Regions from separate parts of the Homo sapiens genome. Here all the other regions are linked to region 1. Evidence: promoter capture Hi-C in 16 types of primary human blood cells and fetal thymus (Javierre and others, 2016). All regions are on one chromosome and are shown on one strand. The core of a region is centred on a gene start or on the middle of the fragment in contact, and the rest is flanking DNA. Distances in the headings are between cores, read along the strand shown.

What was found. The method cuts DNA at HindIII sites, captures the fragments that hold promoters and counts their contacts. A CHiCAGO score of 5 or more calls a contact.
Region 2: a contact is called between a fragment that was not itself captured here and the fragment with the promoter of INTS14 in region 1, in 1 of 17 cell types (endothelial precursors). The highest score is 5.9, in endothelial precursors.
Region 3: a fragment that was not itself captured here is called in contact with the fragment with the promoter of INTS14 in region 1 in 1 of 17 cell types (megakaryocytes); the score reaches 5.1 in megakaryocytes.
Region 4: the fragment with the promoter of PDCD7 here is called in contact with the fragment with the promoter of INTS14 in region 1 in 6 of 17 cell types (naive CD8 T cells, M0 macrophages, naive CD4 T cells and 3 more); the score reaches 8.7 in naive CD8 T cells.
Region 5: a fragment that was not itself captured here is called in contact with the fragment with the promoter of INTS14 in region 1 in 5 of 17 cell types (total B cells, total CD8 T cells, fetal thymus and 2 more); the score reaches 5.8 in total B cells.

Annotation. Positions count from the first base shown.
Region 1 is chr15:65,609,769-65,612,788 of GRCh38, forward strand. It overlaps INTS14 (integrator complex subunit 14), which reads right to left and starts at 1,363. Exons shown (of 12, transcript NM_001394796.1): 1 at 1,330-1,363. It also overlaps a transcript of SLC24A1 not described here. RefSeq lists an enhancer at 1,281-1,440. The HindIII fragment of the contact is 5,572 bases long and covers 1-3,020 here.
Region 2 is chr15:65,905,911-65,909,046 of GRCh38, forward strand. It overlaps MEGF11 (multiple EGF like domains 11), which reads right to left. Exons shown (of 26, transcript NM_001385028.1): 23 at 3,124-3,136; 24 at 175-231. Among named protein-coding and RNA genes, the nearest start is that of RAB11A, 38 kb to the left of the region's middle. The HindIII fragment of the contact is 1,643 bases long and covers 1,037-2,679 here.
Region 3 is chr15:65,926,711-65,930,071 of GRCh38, forward strand. It overlaps MEGF11 (multiple EGF like domains 11), which reads right to left. Exons shown (of 26, transcript NM_001385028.1): 12 at 3,010-3,173; 13 at 1,715-1,817. Among named protein-coding and RNA genes, the nearest start is that of RAB11A, 59 kb to the left of the region's middle. The HindIII fragment of the contact is 1,725 bases long and covers 904-2,628 here.
Region 4 is chr15:65,132,387-65,135,578 of GRCh38, forward strand. PDCD7 (programmed cell death 7) reads right to left here and starts at 1,422. Exons shown (of 5, transcript NM_005707.2): 1 at 526-1,422. The coding sequence starts at 1,395. RefSeq lists silencers at 648-1,047, 1,108-1,317 and an enhancer at 1,608-1,707. The HindIII fragment of the contact is 3,462 bases long and covers 1-2,174 here.
Region 5 is chr15:65,886,709-65,890,030 of GRCh38, forward strand. It overlaps RAB11A (RAB11A, member RAS oncogene family), which reads left to right. Exons shown (of 5, transcript NM_004663.5): 5 at 993-3,322. The coding sequence ends at 1,132. Among named protein-coding and RNA genes, the nearest start is that of RAB11A, 19 kb to the left of the region's middle. The HindIII fragment of the contact is 7,470 bases long and covers 1-3,322 here.

The DNA.
Region 1 (3,020 bases), core at 113-2,612:
GAGTACTGCCCTCACCTCTTAGGAGAATGGGAGGAAACAGTTTACACAGACTTAGATCAAATACAAAAAAGCACTTTCAGCCCGTGAAATCTGCTGTTGACAGTGATGACAGCTGGCAGTCTTGCCTTCTCTGAAGACACCTCTGGAGCTGGCTCTTTCTCCCAAGTGATGCATTTGTGTCGACTCCCAAATGCACCTCATTAACAGTTACAAAGTCGTGGGAGATCAATTTAGTACTCAGGTTGGAGTAAAGGAGGGAACTGAAAGTTCCTGAAGGATAGTTCACTCAAGCAGTATAGGCCTGATTAAAAAAAAAAAAGGCCAGGCACGCCTTTAATCCCAGCACTTTGGGAGGCTGAGGCGGGCAGATCACCCGAGGTCAGGAGTTCGAGACCAGTCTGACCAACATGGTGAAACCCCATCTCTACTAAAAATACAAAAATTAGCCAGATGTGGTGGCGTGCGCCTGTGGTTCTAGTACTTGGGAGGCTGAAATAGGAGAATTGCTTGAACCCAGGAGGCAGAGGTTGCAGTGAGCCGAGATCGCGCCACTGCTCTTCAGCCTGGGCGACAGAGCGAGACTCCGTCTTGGGTGGGGGGGAATCCCTGCCCACCACAGTCTACCAATTTTGTGAGCACAACACTATGTATTCCTCACTTGGGTGGATTCTGAGCCCCCAAGTCTCCCACCCCCACCCCCTTCCCACGTGTACTGTTCAAACAACTAGGGCTCTTCTTTCTCAGGAACAGTCTGAGAAATAGGCCCTAGCCACCTATTTGGCCTTGAATACCAAGTGTCCATCAGCTAGACGTTTGTAATTCTTCCCTGAAGGTGATAATTAGCTCATTCATAAAGAACTGATTCTCAGCAGTCTCGCTCTCAAAGCAGGATTCTACCTGAATTTCTAGTGCCTCACCTGCTCTTTGGCTTTCCCGTCAGCCTCCGGGAGTCCCTCCCCAGTTCTCAGATATAATTTCATCTCTAAAAGTCCAGACTGAAAATCACATCTGGGAGATGTATTTTTACCTTAAAAATCAGTCAAGAAAATGTGGGATCTGGAAGTCTCTCTTGGAAAGAGGGGGCAGAGGGGAGCTGAGCAGAGGGCGAAATCGTGCAGTTTACGCGGAGCTGGGGACCCCGAGCCTCAGAGCGAGGGGAGGCCGGGAGCAGCGCCCCGGAACTGGCGCCTCACAGACAGCGCGGGGCGGCCGCCACGGTGGCGGGAAGGCCAAGCGCTGGCCCTGGGTTGTTCTTCACCCATAACCCCTTCACCTGTAACCCCAACAAGCAGCGAAAGGCAGTCCCGGGCCCTCGGCCTCCCCACTCACCCCGTGCCCATCGCCGGACACAGTCCGTCGGCATAAACTTTCCGTCGGCATAAACTTTCCGTCCGCGCGCCACAGCCGGAACTATAAGGCCGCGCGACAGAAGGGAATCCGGCGCCTGCACTCCGCGCTGGGCGGGGCGGTCCTTGGAGAGCTTCAGGGTCGCCCGGGCAGGGTTCTGGCTCATCCCGGAGGGACGCTAGGGGGCGCGGCCTCTCTTCGCGATGGCCAATCCGCGGCCACCCCTCTCCTCCCACAAATCCCCAACTTCTCTCGAGCCTTGGCTGGGTTTCCTGCCGTGTCTCTCTGCATTGCCCTGAATCTCTCCCCATTCTCGGGCTCTTTCCTTCCCCTTCTGCCCCACTGACCCATGGGCCTCACCTGGCCCGGTGACTCTGTGTCCGCTTCACACTTTTGTCCCCTCACTCCCCTGGGCCCCGTCGGTGCACGAGCCCAACCCTTCCTGCTATTTTCCTCGTCACTCTTTAGCCCCCTCTCTCGTATCCTCTGAACCGGTTGACAGAATCCTCTTCCTGTTCTTTTTAAACTGCAATTCCTGAACTACAAATCCTGGCCGGGCGTGGTGGTTCAGGCCTGTAATCCCAGCACTTTGGGAGGCCAAGGTGGGCGGATCGCTTCAGGTCAGGAGTTTGAGACCAGCCTGGGAAACATGGTGAAACCCCGCTCTCTACTAAAATACAAAAATTAGCCGGGCATGGTAACGAGTGCCTGTAATCCCAGCTACTTGGGAGGCTAACGCACGAGAATCTTGGGGGGAAAAACCCCAAAACTGTAATTCCTGGCTGAGGTATGCTTTGTATATCCTTCTTAGCTGACCTGAGCCCAATTTACCTCAAGACTTGGCCTCTTGGTCTCCTCAGCCCAAATGCTCACTTTATTTCCCCTATCCCCTCTTTGAGGGAAGCAGAGGGCCCTCGTTCCTCTCACCCTGGACAAGGCATGCGTGCTCAGATTTCCCTGTAAGGCAACATGGGCTCTTGCCTGCCACTCTGGCCACCTGGTGTCTCCATTGTAGTCTGTGCCTCAGTGAGGTCCTTAAGAGGGCAAGAGGTGACTTTCTTTCTAACCATGTAGGGAGCCAGGGAATCCCAGCTAGAGATAGGCTTAGATGGATGCCAGCAGGCCCCTGGGTAGTTACGGTTCAAAGAACAATGTGGAACCACATAGGTTACAAAGTGAGTACAGAAAGGCCTCTAGAAGGCCTCAGGCATTTGCCTTTTTCTTTTAGCTGATAGGATGGGGCGAGATTAGGAGATGGGACGAGGAAGGAGGATGCTTTGAACTGAACAGACAAATCTGTCTGACTTCTCACAGCTTGTTATGTGGGAGATTGTGGGGCCAGTTGCTTGTAGTTTTTTCCTGTCCCTGGGAATATCCCTGCCAGCACTGGGGCCAGGGCCCTGCAGACTGCCCTATTTGCTTCAAAACTTCTTTCCCCAACCTGGCTGATCTCACCATGTCAAGACCTAGTTATGCTTGAGCAGGCATTGGGCTCCAGGTAAGTAAGGCTGCAGCCTGATAACTTAGTCATGATTTCTAATCTTGCCCTATTGGGAGGGATGTGGCCAAGAATGTGTGGGTAAGCAAGTGTCTAGTTACCCCTAATGTGACAACGACTTAGCCATAGGGTTACTGTCCTCGTGGTAATTCTGGCTCAGTTGCAGGGTCTGATT
Region 2 (3,136 bases), core at 608-3,107, 300 kb after region 1:
GATTGCTCCTCCTGGGCACAGCTACCCAACAGCCCCAGGCCCTGTGGTCTTTTAACCTTCTGTGGGGGGCAGGCACACACAGTTTGTCTCAAGTGGAATTCCTGGCCATTTCAGATCTGCACTCTTTATCTTGCTAAGCCCTCTGTAATAAGACAGCAGGATTGGATACTCTACCTTTGAAGCCTTTGTCCATAATGTATGTGTTCTGACGTCTATCCATTCCACAAGCACCTGTGTAAAAATAACATGTAAGGAAAGAAAATATGGGGGTGAGGTTTACTTAGACTGCTTGTGTTCTTCTTTCTTTTCTTGCTTTTCCCCCCCCTTCTCCCCTACCCAGAAAATAAATAGTTGTTTATTGCTAGAAAATGATTCTGGGGGTTTAATCTACCTGAAATTGTTTTGATAAATGATTCTGGGTTTAATCCATCTGAAATTGTTTTGATTATAGGAATTATTAAAAGGCTCATAAGCTACAGCGACCCCCGGCATATTCAGCACTCCTTCCCTTTAACCTTCACCCTAGGGGAGTGTCTTTCAGGAAGGAATAAAAGGCTGTTCTGATGCCATTCCCTGCAGGTGAAACTCCAGGCTCCAAGGGTATAGGATAAGGAATGAAGCAGAACCAGTTCTTGGCTTGAGGGAAAGTTGTATGACATTACAAATCACAGTTCTGTTGGAATTTGGCATGGGTTTGAAGACAGTATTTATCACCTCTCAGCTCTGGTCCTGTCTGTCCTCTCCTGGATCCAAGGCTTATCTGAGGGTAGCCAGAGAGAAACAGAGGGAGACAGGTGGCTGAGGTTCTTGATTAGTCATCTTTGTAGGATGTACAGACATTCCCTCCCATAGCCAGTTCTCTTAGTTACTCATTTTTTGGGGTGTGCCATTTGCACATAATGTAGAATTGTTTTTGAAAAGTATTACCAGTGTTTTCAGCCCCAAGGATTTCTTTCTACCTTTCGGCTGTCAGTTTTTTCCTAGGCTCCAACAATGCATGATGGCCCTGAGCCTCAGCCAGAGGCTTCAGGGACTAAGCTTGGGTTCTTTGCTGCTGGTGATCCCAGAAAAGAAATTGTTTGGCATTTCTAGGTTGGGACAGTAATGACTCTGGCTCAAAGTCAGAGCAATTTTTTCTTCTAGCTTTTAACTGAGGACACAGCACCAAGCAAGGCCTGCAGCAAGTACTTACTAAAATACAGTTTGACTCTCCTTGACTCTTCCCAGTTTCTGACACTGAAGACCACCCTGTTGCTATCGCTCCTCTACGTAGAGTTCCCATGTTGAATTTGAAAGCGTCTACTCCTATCTGCCTACGTTCCACATATTACTGAGAGATATGGCAGAACCAGGCCCAAGTTTTTCTTTTAAGTTTGCTATTTTTCTTTTTTTCTTTTTTTTTGAGATGGAGTCTCGCTGTGTCACCCAGGCTGGAGTGCAGTGGCGCAATCTCTGTTCACTACAACCTCCACCTTCCAGGTTCAATCGATTCTCCTGTCTCAACCTCCTGAGTAGCTGGGACTACAGGCATGCACCACCACTCCCAGCTAATTTTTTTGTATTTTTAACAGATGGGGTTTTACCATGTTGGCCAGGCTGGTCTTGAACTCCTGACGTCACGTGATCTGCCTGCCTCAGCCTCCCAAAGTGCTGGGATTACAGACGTGAGCCACCGTACCCAGCCTCAAATTTGCTGTTTTTTCTGAGAGGCTTATAGGTACCTGTGTCCTTCAGAATCATGCCTGCAACTGCCTATATGCTGGCATTAGTTCAGCACTTTATGCCAGACAAGGGCTTCCTTTGCCCTTCCTGAGGGAAGCTGGCTAGGGTATTAACTTTTCCTTTTTACAGAACAGGGAACAGGCCCAAAGAGCAACAGTGGCTTGTCCAAAACCACACTAGCAAGTGAGAAGCTGAGTTACAGTTAGAGCCCAGATCTCTCCAAGTATTCTCTCTCACTGGATACCAGCCTGCCTGGGTGTAAGACAAATGCCAGCGCATGGCGCTCTGGCTACGCTAGTTGAAGAGTGAGATCTGTAAAGCAGGGAGAAATCTGGCCTAGTTCAGAGGATACTCCCTTGTAGAAAGAGATACAGGGTGGTGGTGGTGGGGCTGTGTGTGTGTGTATATGCTGGAATGGGAGAGATTGTAGTTGGTGGGGTTATTAAATGCCCTAGATACTGTCCAGGGGACCCACAGCTAATAACACAGCCTCCTGAGTATAGGCCCAGGGTCCATGCAGCCCATGCCTGCTCAGTGGGCAGATGAATTCAGAACATTCACCCTTCCTGGTATTACTGGACCCAGGGACCTGCAGGGATTGGTAGAGCAGCTCAGTTTCCTTAGAGTTCTAGAAGCCACCTAGAGCCTGAGGTCAGGCCTAGAGTTGTCTGGTATACCAAGGCCCTGCCCCAGGGTGCCCCAGAGGAGCCACATTGTAGGGAGGCCACATTCTCTGTTCATTCATTGCACTTGTTCCCATGATACCTTCTGTAACTCCTACCCACATGTTCCCATAATCAGGGCTAACTTTCCAAGTCTCTTGTGTGTGTGTCTCCCAAGCCACCAGATTTCAGCCCAGGCTGTACTCAGTACATGAGTACAGGTGATGTTGGTTGATACATCCTGCCCCAGCCTCTCCAGATCCCTGTTTGACAACCCTACCCTGTGATTTGAGAAAGCTTGGCTTGGGCCACTGGGGTTTCTGGAGTCTCTGGGAGACATTGGACTTTATTGGCCAGAGAGCTAACTCCCTGTTATCCACTCCAACAGGGCCCAGAGAACCCCAAAGATGTCGCCATCCCCAAGTCATTTTTGAAAGGTGTAGGATTGTATTTTGTGGCCTGTAGGGAGGGCAGTTTTGTTGTATCTTCTCCACCCTAAATAGCCTGTTTGTTCACATCCACCGTTCACTATGGGAACAGAATGGGTGATGGGGAAGATCCAGACAGGTTTCCATCTTTAGATAGGGGATTGAGCTGGTAGACATGTTGGGAGGGAAGAGGGCTTAAAAGGGAGAGTTCTGGGACCACAGGGTGGGGGTCAAGGTGCAGGGATGGGGATTAGGGCAGGTGCTGGGTCTGGTCTGGCATGAGGGGGTGGAGGGTAGGGCTGGGGTCTGACCTGGTGAGTGTGG
Region 3 (3,361 bases), core at 516-3,015, 320 kb after region 1:
GGAAATTAGGTTTAGAACAGCAGAGGCCTTGCTGAAAGGTGGTTCACCAAAGACAGAATTTTTAAGCACTAGATGTCATTAAAATCTTAATTGGCTCACTCAAAATTAAGGCAATGAAAAATTAAAGTTGATTTCCACTTGGCTCCTGCTGAGATTCTAGGGTGCCAGTGACCAGGGTTGAGCCTTATTCTTTACTGACGGGCAGGAGCCAGCAGGGCAGGGGAAGCCAGGCTGGAGATACTGCAGAGGAAGCAATGTCCCTGGCTCTTGGCTGCTTAGAAACTTTCTGGTTATGAACACAGGCTGTGCAGCAACCTGGTGTTAATTATTTATCTGAGAACCTATACTGCCAGAAATGACTATATTTCTTTCTCTTTGCTGCTCATCACCTTGGGACTGGCTAGTAGGTTCACTTCTGAAATGCTTATTAAGCACTTCCTGTATTCATGGCCTGCTTTTACTGAGCACTTACTATGTGCCAGGCACTGTTAGCACTTTATAGGTAGTAACTCATTTAAGCTTCAAAACAACCCTGTAGTTGCAAGGATAATTATCTGTATTTTATGGATGGAGAGTTCAGGCCCTGAGAGGTTAAATGACTTGCCCAAGGTCATAAACCCCAGCAGTCTTGCTCCAGAGCTGGGTTCTTAACTACCGTGTTATCCATATCTCAGTGTGTGGCAGGCAGTGGATACAATGGTGAATAAGGCAGATGCCTCCATATAGCTGATGGCCACATTAGGGAGGCAGATAATAAACAGTTACCACAGTTGTCATTGAACTCTGATTTAAGTACCACAATAGGAAAAGTGTAGGGTAGAAGAATTAATAAAGGGAGTGCTTTTGTCTTGGTCAGGTTGGGGTGGGTATTGTAGCAGGGGAAGTGCCTTCCCAGAGGAAGAAAGCTTTACATTGAAATCTGGTAGACAAGGAGTTATCAGGTGAAAAGGGGAAGGAATGATCCAGGCAGAGGGAATGGCATGTGCAAAGGCCTGGAGTCAGGAAGGTGGTTGGCTTCCTGAAGAAGTAGACTGCAGCCCTGGTGGCTGGAATGTAGTGAGCCACAAAGTGAACAGAGTGAGGTGGAGTCAGGCAGAGCCAGATCCCGTGGGCCCTGGGCCATGGTAAGGATTTAAAATTTTATGTAAGAGTCGTGGGAAGCCACTGAGGCATTCTGAACAGGGACTGAAATGGCAGATCTGGGTTTGAAAAGTTGACTCTGGCCACCAGGTGCAGAATGAATGCAGCTGGGCAAGAGCGGAGGCCAAGGCAGTGCCAGATGCGGGATGGTACCCAGCAGACCGTGTGGTGGCAGTGGGATGGAGAGAAGTAGATGGATTCACCTTGTATTTAGGAGGCAGGCTGACAGGATAGATATAAGGACCAGGATTCTGAGACTGGACTAAGGAGAAAGGCCCTTGTCCCCTTCTCCATCATATTCTCTAGATTGAGCACTTACACCAACCATATGTCAGCTTTTGACCTACTGGAGTGACTCCAGTGCCTTGGACAGAGCTTATACCTAATAGATGTTCAATAAATATTTACTTGAATTAAATGGAATGGAGAACTGGAACCCAGAGCAGATAAAGGGAAAGATGCATACTCAGGGATCAAGAAGAGAGGTATTGAAGAAGAAAACGGTCAAGAGAAGTAGGATACCAAGAACCCAGTTTCACAGTACCTGGGTGGTGGCACAGCAAGGGAAGGTTACCTGTCCATCCGGCCAGGCAGCAGCAGTGGCCTGTGACGGGGTCACATCCATCAGCATGGCTGCAGTCACAGTGTTCACTGCAGTTCAGCCCAAATGTGCCATCCTGTGGAGAAGACAGGGAGAGAAAAATGATCAGACCCAAACCTCCAGAGGTTTGTGTACTTCTATGGATCTTTTCTTTAATTTTTACTTTTGGAGGGTCCAGTGAGATCTACTGGATCTTGATGACAAAACTGAGCCAGAACCCCACAGAGATGCAGGGAGACTGGGGCTGGGGCACAATGGGGACACGTTTTGTAAGTGGGGATAACACAGCCATGAAGACACTCTGAAGAATTATTTGGCTGCATTAACAGGAGTATGAGGTTGAGAAGGAGGTGATACTCCTGCTCTACTTCTCAGTGGTCAAGCTCAAAGGCCTGTAATGATCATTAACTAAAACTGTAAATGAAAGTGCACTTTGCAGATTGTAACACATTGATCATCTGTGAGGAATGACTATGATTTATTCTTTGTTGCCGGGGAAGAAGGTAGTCACCAATTCTTATATGCTCATTAGGTATCAAGAGCCTCATATACTTAATTTTTCTTAATCCTCACAGCAATTCCATGATATGATTCCATTGTATTCCCACTTTAAAGATGAGAAACAAGGTTAGAGAGGTGAAGTAACATGCTCAAGGTAACAAAGGATGTGACAAAGCCAAGATTTGAACCCAGGATTGCAGGACTCCAAATTGCTCATTAAGGACTGCATTGCTCATCCAGCAATATCATATCAGTGGGTTTAACTTATTTGTATCTCAGACCTATAAGATGAAGTGATTAAGTCTGGGTGGTTATTATTGAACAGTGCTTGCTTTAGTCACCACACACTCTGATCATAAAAGTACAGACTGTTGGAACCAGAAGGAAGCTTAAACATTATCTACCAACGAATGGCAACTCTCATGGATTAGTAAGGGCTGTCTTGTAGCACTGGGTTGTGAAGGAATCTGAAGCTGCATTTGAGCTCAAGTGCCAGAGTCAATAATGTTTACCAAGAGCAGCACGGGAAAAGTGATGCCATGTCACCACATCTGCCAAGTATTTGCCATTTTATAGACGAGGGGGATGAGGGCCAAAGTAGTAAAATAGCCACAGAGAGGTTAGGACTAGGACTGTGACCTAAATCCAAGTGTCCCATCACCTAGCTTAGTGCTGTTCTCTGTGCACTCTTGTGGACGAACTAACACCAGGGAAAGGGCGTGAGGGGATGCGGAGCCCAACCTGTCCCTCCCCACCCTGGCACTCACCGGGCAAGGCAGCTCACAGGTGTCTCCCAGCCAGCCAGGAGTGCAGGAGCAGGAGCCGTCTATGGGGCTGCAGGCTGCCCCATTGGCACAGGTGCAGCTCTCGTTGCAGTTCAGGCCCCACGTCCCACTGGGACATGGCAGGGTGCAGTCCAGGCCCTGCCACCCTGAGGGGAGGGAAAGGGACTGTCACTTCTCCATCCAGGCCCAGTGTGTCTTTTTTGCCCACTCCCCCCAGCTCTGCACACAGCATTCCACCCAAACCACTGCTTTCCTGAGGGCTGGGTTAGAACACACATTCCACACAGAGTTCAGAAATACAACAGAGCTGTTAGGAGAGCTGGGGCTAGAACCC
Region 4 (3,192 bases), core at 172-2,671, 480 kb before region 1:
GATTACAGGCGCCCGCCACCACGCATGGCTAATTTTTGTATTTTTAGTAGAGACGGGGTTTCACCATCTTGGCCAGGCTGGTCTTGAACTCCTGACCTCGTGATCCACCCGCCTCCGCCTCCCAAAGTGCTGGGATTACAGGCGTGGGCCACCGCGCCCGGCCTGTATTTTGTATTCTTAAAACCACCTAGGGCAGTACAAGACACAAGGAACTAGACACTTACTGGTTTTGAGAGTAAGTGGACAATGTTGGAGCAGGATAGGGGAGACCTGTCATTCGTGCAGTGCCACCGTGTAATCCTATACTTTGTGTTTACAGGATTTTACAGTGCACCTGGAACTTTTGTGTACCACACATCATTAACACAAAATTAACATGGTGGTATGAGCTGGGAAGGTTAGCTATCGCTTCATTTTGCGCGTAAAACAGAGGCTTAGCCCTGGGAAATGGAAGTTTAAAGCCTCCTGCTGCTCCAGGTTCCAACCACCACCACTCCTACCCCCATGAGCGGCCGCTGCTCTCACCCGCTTCTTCTCCTCCACCTCCTGCACACACTTCACCCTCCAGCGGTCAATCTCCTGCTCGCGTTCCACTGCCCGCGCGGCCTCTGCCTCCCGCTCGGCCTCGCGTTCCCGGGCCCTCTCGCGAAGCCGCAGCCGGCGGCGCCGGACCCTCTCCAGCCTCCTCCGCGCCTCGCCCACATAGGCAGCCTGGGTCAACGGCTGTAGCCGCTCGGCCAGTTCCGCGCGCAGCGGCGCGGTCTGGGAGTACAGCAGGACCCAGGCCGCGCCGTCGGCTTCGGCCTCGCGCAGGGCCTGGCTCAGGCCGCGCAGCCGCCGCACCAGGCGCAGAGCCCGGAGCAATCGCGCGCGCACTTCGCCAAGGCTGGGCCCGGCATGCGTGCGCTGGGGCACCGGACAGCCTGCCCGCCGCGGGGTCCCGAACACCGCCTCCAGCCACTGCCGGTCGCGCAGGCGTTGGAGGGCCGCATCCCCGAGCACGTCGGCCGGCGGCGGCGGCGCCTCAGGCCACCGCGGGCTCCAGGGCGGCCCCGGGCCGGGAGGCGGTGGCCGCGGCCGCTCGCCGGCGTCGGTCCCCGGGAAGGGCCGACACTGGGGCGGCGGAGGAGGCAGCGGCGGTGGTGGCACCGGGTAGAAGGCGCCAGCGCCGCCTCCGCCGCGGGAGGCCTCCGCGGAGGCTCGGGGCTGCAGAGCCAGCGGAGGCTGAAGGAAGGGGGCGGAGGCCCCCGGAAAAGGGCCGGGCCGCTGGGGGAGAGGCGGCGGGAAAGCCGGGGAGGGCAGCGGCGGTGGCGGACAGCCGAAAGGAGCAGGAGGCGGCGGCTGCGGGGGCGGTGGGCCTGGGCGACCCTGGCCGAAGAATGGTGGCAGGGCCATGTTCACGACGGAGATGCTTTGAGAAGTGACAGGAATCTGAGTGGCTCCTCATGAGAACCTTCCGACGGAAGTGACGTCGTTACGACGCGCGACCCCTGTAGACTCGTCCCTCCGGAAGGCTCAGTGCATAAGTGGGCAGTCGTTCAACCTTCTGTCGTTCAGTTCATAAATACCGTTCTTATTGAGCATCCTAGGTGCAGAGCTACCCACTCCGCATACAGTGAGACTGAGAGATACAGAGCTTCTCTTCGTGGAACTATCTGCCTAGTATAACACACTAATCAATTAATCATGGTGAGTATCTTCGAGAAGTTGGAGAAGGTTATCCTAAGAAACTGCGGCTGCAGCTGAGATCTGGAAGATAAATAGTTAAATAGAAAAAGAGAGGGAAGCACAGTGCAGATGAGAACATGTGCAAAGGCCCTAGTAAATAGGAGTGTGACCAACTACCCATTTTCTTAGAAAAATGAATTATTTTTACTTTTCTCCTTTCACCCCACCTCCTATTTAGCTCTTTAGGAATGCAATTATAGGGTGGGTGCTGTGGCTCACGTCTGTAATCCCAGCACTTTGGGAGGCCGAGGCAGGCGAGATCGGCCTGTAGTCCCAGCCATTGGGGAGGCTGAGGTGGGAGGATCACCTGAGCCCTGGGAGGTAAAGACTGCAATGAGCCACGATAACGCCACTGCACTCCACCCTGGGCGACAGAATGACACCTGTCAAAAAAAAAAATCCAATTAACCTTTACCTTCTCTCCACCAGACACTCTCTACACTGTAAGCTTATCTAATTATGTGTTCGCTTATTAGTTCCAAGGACCGAAGCTTAAACCAGGGACCTCTGGAACTTTCCCATACCAGGGGATTGCCTGGGGACAACTGTCAATTTACAACCTAGCTCCCCGCTACCCCCCACCCCCCCTCCGCCTTCGCCCCAGCCTCCATGGCGCCAACCAGATCACTGATGGATACATAGGAGCAAGTCCCATAGACCCAGCACCTCCTTGGTCCCTCCCCACCCCTTGCATGCCATCCAGGTCAACCAAGTCCCGTGCACCCCCCACTTTTTTTGAGACAGAGTCCCTCTGTCACCCAGGCTGGAGTGCAATGACGCACTCTCCACTCACTGCAACCACTGCATCCCAGGTTCCAGTTATTCTTGGTGCCTCAGCCTCCCTAGTCAGTTGCTGGGATTATAGACCCCTGCTGCCACGCCTGGCTAATTTTTGTGTTTTTAGTAGAGAGGGGGTTTCACAATGCTGGCTAGGCTGGTCGTAAACTCCTTACATCAGGTGATCCGTCCACCTTGGCCTCCCAAAGTGCTGGGGTTACAGGTGTGAGCCACCACACCTGGCCACTTTCTTTCTTTTTTTTTTTTTATGAGACAGAGTCTCCCTGTGTCGCCCAGGCTGGAGTGCAGTGGCGTGATCTTGGCTCATTGTAAGCTCTGCCTCCTGGGTTCATGCCATTCTTCTGCCTCAGCCTCCCGAGTAGCTGGGATTACAGGTGCCCACCACCATGCCTGGCTAATTTTTTTGTATTTTTAGTGGAGATGGGGTTTCACCATGTTAGCCAGGATGGTCTCGATCTCCTGACCTCATGATCCGCCTGCCTTGGATCATGTTGGGATTACAGGCGTGAGCCACCGTGCCCGTGGCAGTCACTTTCTTTTTACCATTCTCTTACTTGTTATTTGAATTTGCAAGCTGCAGGGAACTGGACCTGCCTTAGGTTACAGGACTATGTCTAGTGGGAAGCCTGATAGAATGCCAGTTTTGGCCTGTAATCCCAGCACTTT
Region 5 (3,322 bases), core at 83-2,582, 280 kb after region 1:
TGCGGTTATTTATTTATCACAACACATGTTATATGTTGCAGTACAGCAGTAAGACAGACACAGTTTTGATCCTTACAGAGTTTAACACTTAGTAAAAGAGGCAGACACTAAATTATTTTTGATAAGTGTCATGAAATAAAAATAGAGTTTACATATAACATCTTAAGTTGCCTATTTTGTATCATTCTTTAATTACAATTTAAGTTTTGTTCAGGAGGTCACTGATAAACACATTATCTTTTTTTCCCTTCCAAGAATCGTTTGGGATTTTAGCATGTTTGTTAAGATGTACTCTGCCGAATGCGTCTGATAGTGCAAATTTATTTATTTTTTGTGTGGTACAATGTCATTGTGTGTAGGCAATTTTTGTTTGTTTGTTTGTTTTTTGGGGTAAAGGTAGACTGAAAATACTCTTATGGTTTACTTTGAATCTAAGTCCATAAACAATGTAATGCTATTGGCTTACCTCTTTTTTTTTTTTTTGAGACCGAGTCTTGCTCTGTTGTCTAGGCTGGAGTGCAGTGGCACGATCTCATCTCACGACAACCTCCGCCTCCCGGGTTCAAGTGATTCTCCTGCCTCAGCCTCCCGAGTAGCTGGGATTACAGGCACCCACCATCATGCTTGGCTAATTTTTGTATTTTTGTAGAGACAGGGTTTCACCATGTTGGTCAGGCTGGTCTTGAACTCCTGACCTCAGGTGATCTGCCTGGCCTGGTTTACCTCTTTAAACAAAGATTTATTTGACTGGTGAACCTTTCCCTCTGACATGGAAAAACCTTTGTTTCTTTTCTTACCCAAAGGGCAATTGTTAAAATAAAGGGTTGAATCTAATCAGTGGCTGTTTGAAAATAAAACTTTAAATTTATGTATTCTCTGTTCAGTTTCCTTAGGGACTTTGATGCAAATATATCTCCTACCTTTATGTATCTTTTATCCTAACTATGATAGGTTTATTCACACTAAGTATTGTGGTTTCTTTTTTCCTTCAGAGATTTACCGCATTGTTTCTCAGAAGCAAATGTCAGACAGACGCGAAAATGACATGTCTCCAAGCAACAATGTGGTTCCTATTCATGTTCCACCAACCACTGAAAACAAGCCAAAGGTGCAGTGCTGTCAGAACATCTAAGGCATTTCTCTTCTCCCCTAGAAGGCTGTGTATAGTCCATTTCCCAGGTCTGAGATTTAAATATATTTGTAATTCTTGTGTCACTTTTGTGTTTTATTACTTCATACTTATGAATTTTTCCATGTCCTAAGTCTTTTGATTTTAGCTTTATAAAATCATCCACTTGTCCCGAATGACTGCAGCTTTTTTTCATGCTATGGCTTCACTAGCCTTAGTTTAATAAACTGAATGTTTGGATTCCTCAGTTATTGTTTACTTTTCATCATGGAAGCCTGTCACTGTATGTAGGACATAATAGAACTTGATCACTTGAAGCTCAGACCTATTGGTCTTGATCAAATCAAACTAAGAAGACCTTAGAAATAAGCTACCATTTTGCCACAGAGCAGCTTATAGGTAATACACTCTTCTCTCAGTGCAGTGTACATTTCCACAAATCTAAGAATTGCCCTATAAACATAGCAGGATTTTGAGAGCTTGAAAATTTTCCATTATTCTGGACATGAATTTCTAAAATGCCTTAATAGGTTTATGTAGTTGAGTAAATTTTGTTTTTTAATTTTTGTAAGCATCAAAGTTGATTAGAGAGGGGGGCACTTTTTCTGGAGAATTCTCTTAGTAAACACAAAAGATTGTTACGGTTTCATTAGTAGTATGGTTGTGGGGCCATAAGTTAAACAGTGCTGCCTGGTAGGCTGGGAACTGAAGAGACTTGTGGTATTCCATCTCGGGTGCCTCTGTTGGCAATGATCAGGCAGCCCAAAAGATTTAAATGATCTATAATAATTTCCAAGCGGTAGATTATGTGGCATTTTATTGCTCAGGCAATAATTGGTTTAATGCTGGTAGTGTCAAATTTTGAAGTGTTAATTTTGTCTTAGAACCTTCCAGTAAGTGAAATACAACCTAGTTTTATCACCATATCCACCAGCAGGCATGGATAATTATTTTAACAATGCTAATATTTGAGTTTTGCAGTATATTATAGAATATAGTCCAGTTAAATCTTTGGTTTCAGTATGTCTGAAGAGTACAGTGAGAGGTTAATTTCTGCTCAAGTGGTACCACTTAAAGGCATGTATTCTTTTAGTATGTAAAATGAAATAGTACCTTGAGTTTAAATAGAATGCATTTAGGCATTGTAGAGATCTGAAATAGTTTTCTTCCACTACATTGTTGAAATCAATGAAGCAATTAGTTTCTCATTCAGAAATGTGCACACTAATATTTAGTTTTGCTTTCTCGTGGATAATATTAAGCACTTACTCTGCAGTTTCCTGGAAGTTGTGTCAACTGCAGTGATACTATTCAGGATGGTGGGAAATCCCCAAAAATATGTATGTGTGGGCTTGCTTAGATTACTATATTTCATAGTTAATCTTTTGTCTCTTGCGGTGCTCATGATGTGTGGGGCACACGGAAGGCATTGCTGTAGTCAGTCATTTTGGTTTTCTTCTATAGCCATTTTATTATTTTAGTGTATTAGTTATGAAGATAATATTATCTATTTGTAAATTGCTACTTTGTATTTTATGCATGCTCTGTAATTTGATTTTTTTTTAGTTATTGATTTGGATTATATTCACATTCTAATAAACAGTTATAGGGGGATTATTTCTTATGCTGTCAGATTACATTTTTCCTTTGAGTGCTTTGGGTGCAGCCGTGGAATCCTGATGTAAAAGCATAGGTTCTTGCATTACTGAGTAAACATTGAATTGGGAGCATCAGTGTGTGAATTCAGCTTTGATTTTAGAACTGCAGTTCAATTATGCTTTCCTTGGAAAAAGTATGTCCAAAAACATTAGGAAAGTAGTGTGTATTTTCATATATAACAGTGTCACCAGACCCAGGAAAAGAAACCATCTCTATTTTATTGAAAGTTGGTGGTAGATTTTTTACAAAGTAAGGAGAAAAGAGAAAAACTAAATAGTGAATTGAAAATGAATAAAGTAAACTTAGAATTTTTACCCAAGTGTAGACTTAAATGTTGCTTTGAGTATGGCTGGATCTTGGGAGAATTCCAGGAAATATTAGGTATTAGAAAATGACTTTGATTGCATTTCAGCAGGTGTCTTTATTCTGAGTAGTATCTTAGGAGACAAACTGTCTCAAGCAAGAAACAATAAATTTTTAAATATTATGACAGTTCAGGGCTTAAGGCAGTTTAGAAGTATTTTGCTACTTGAC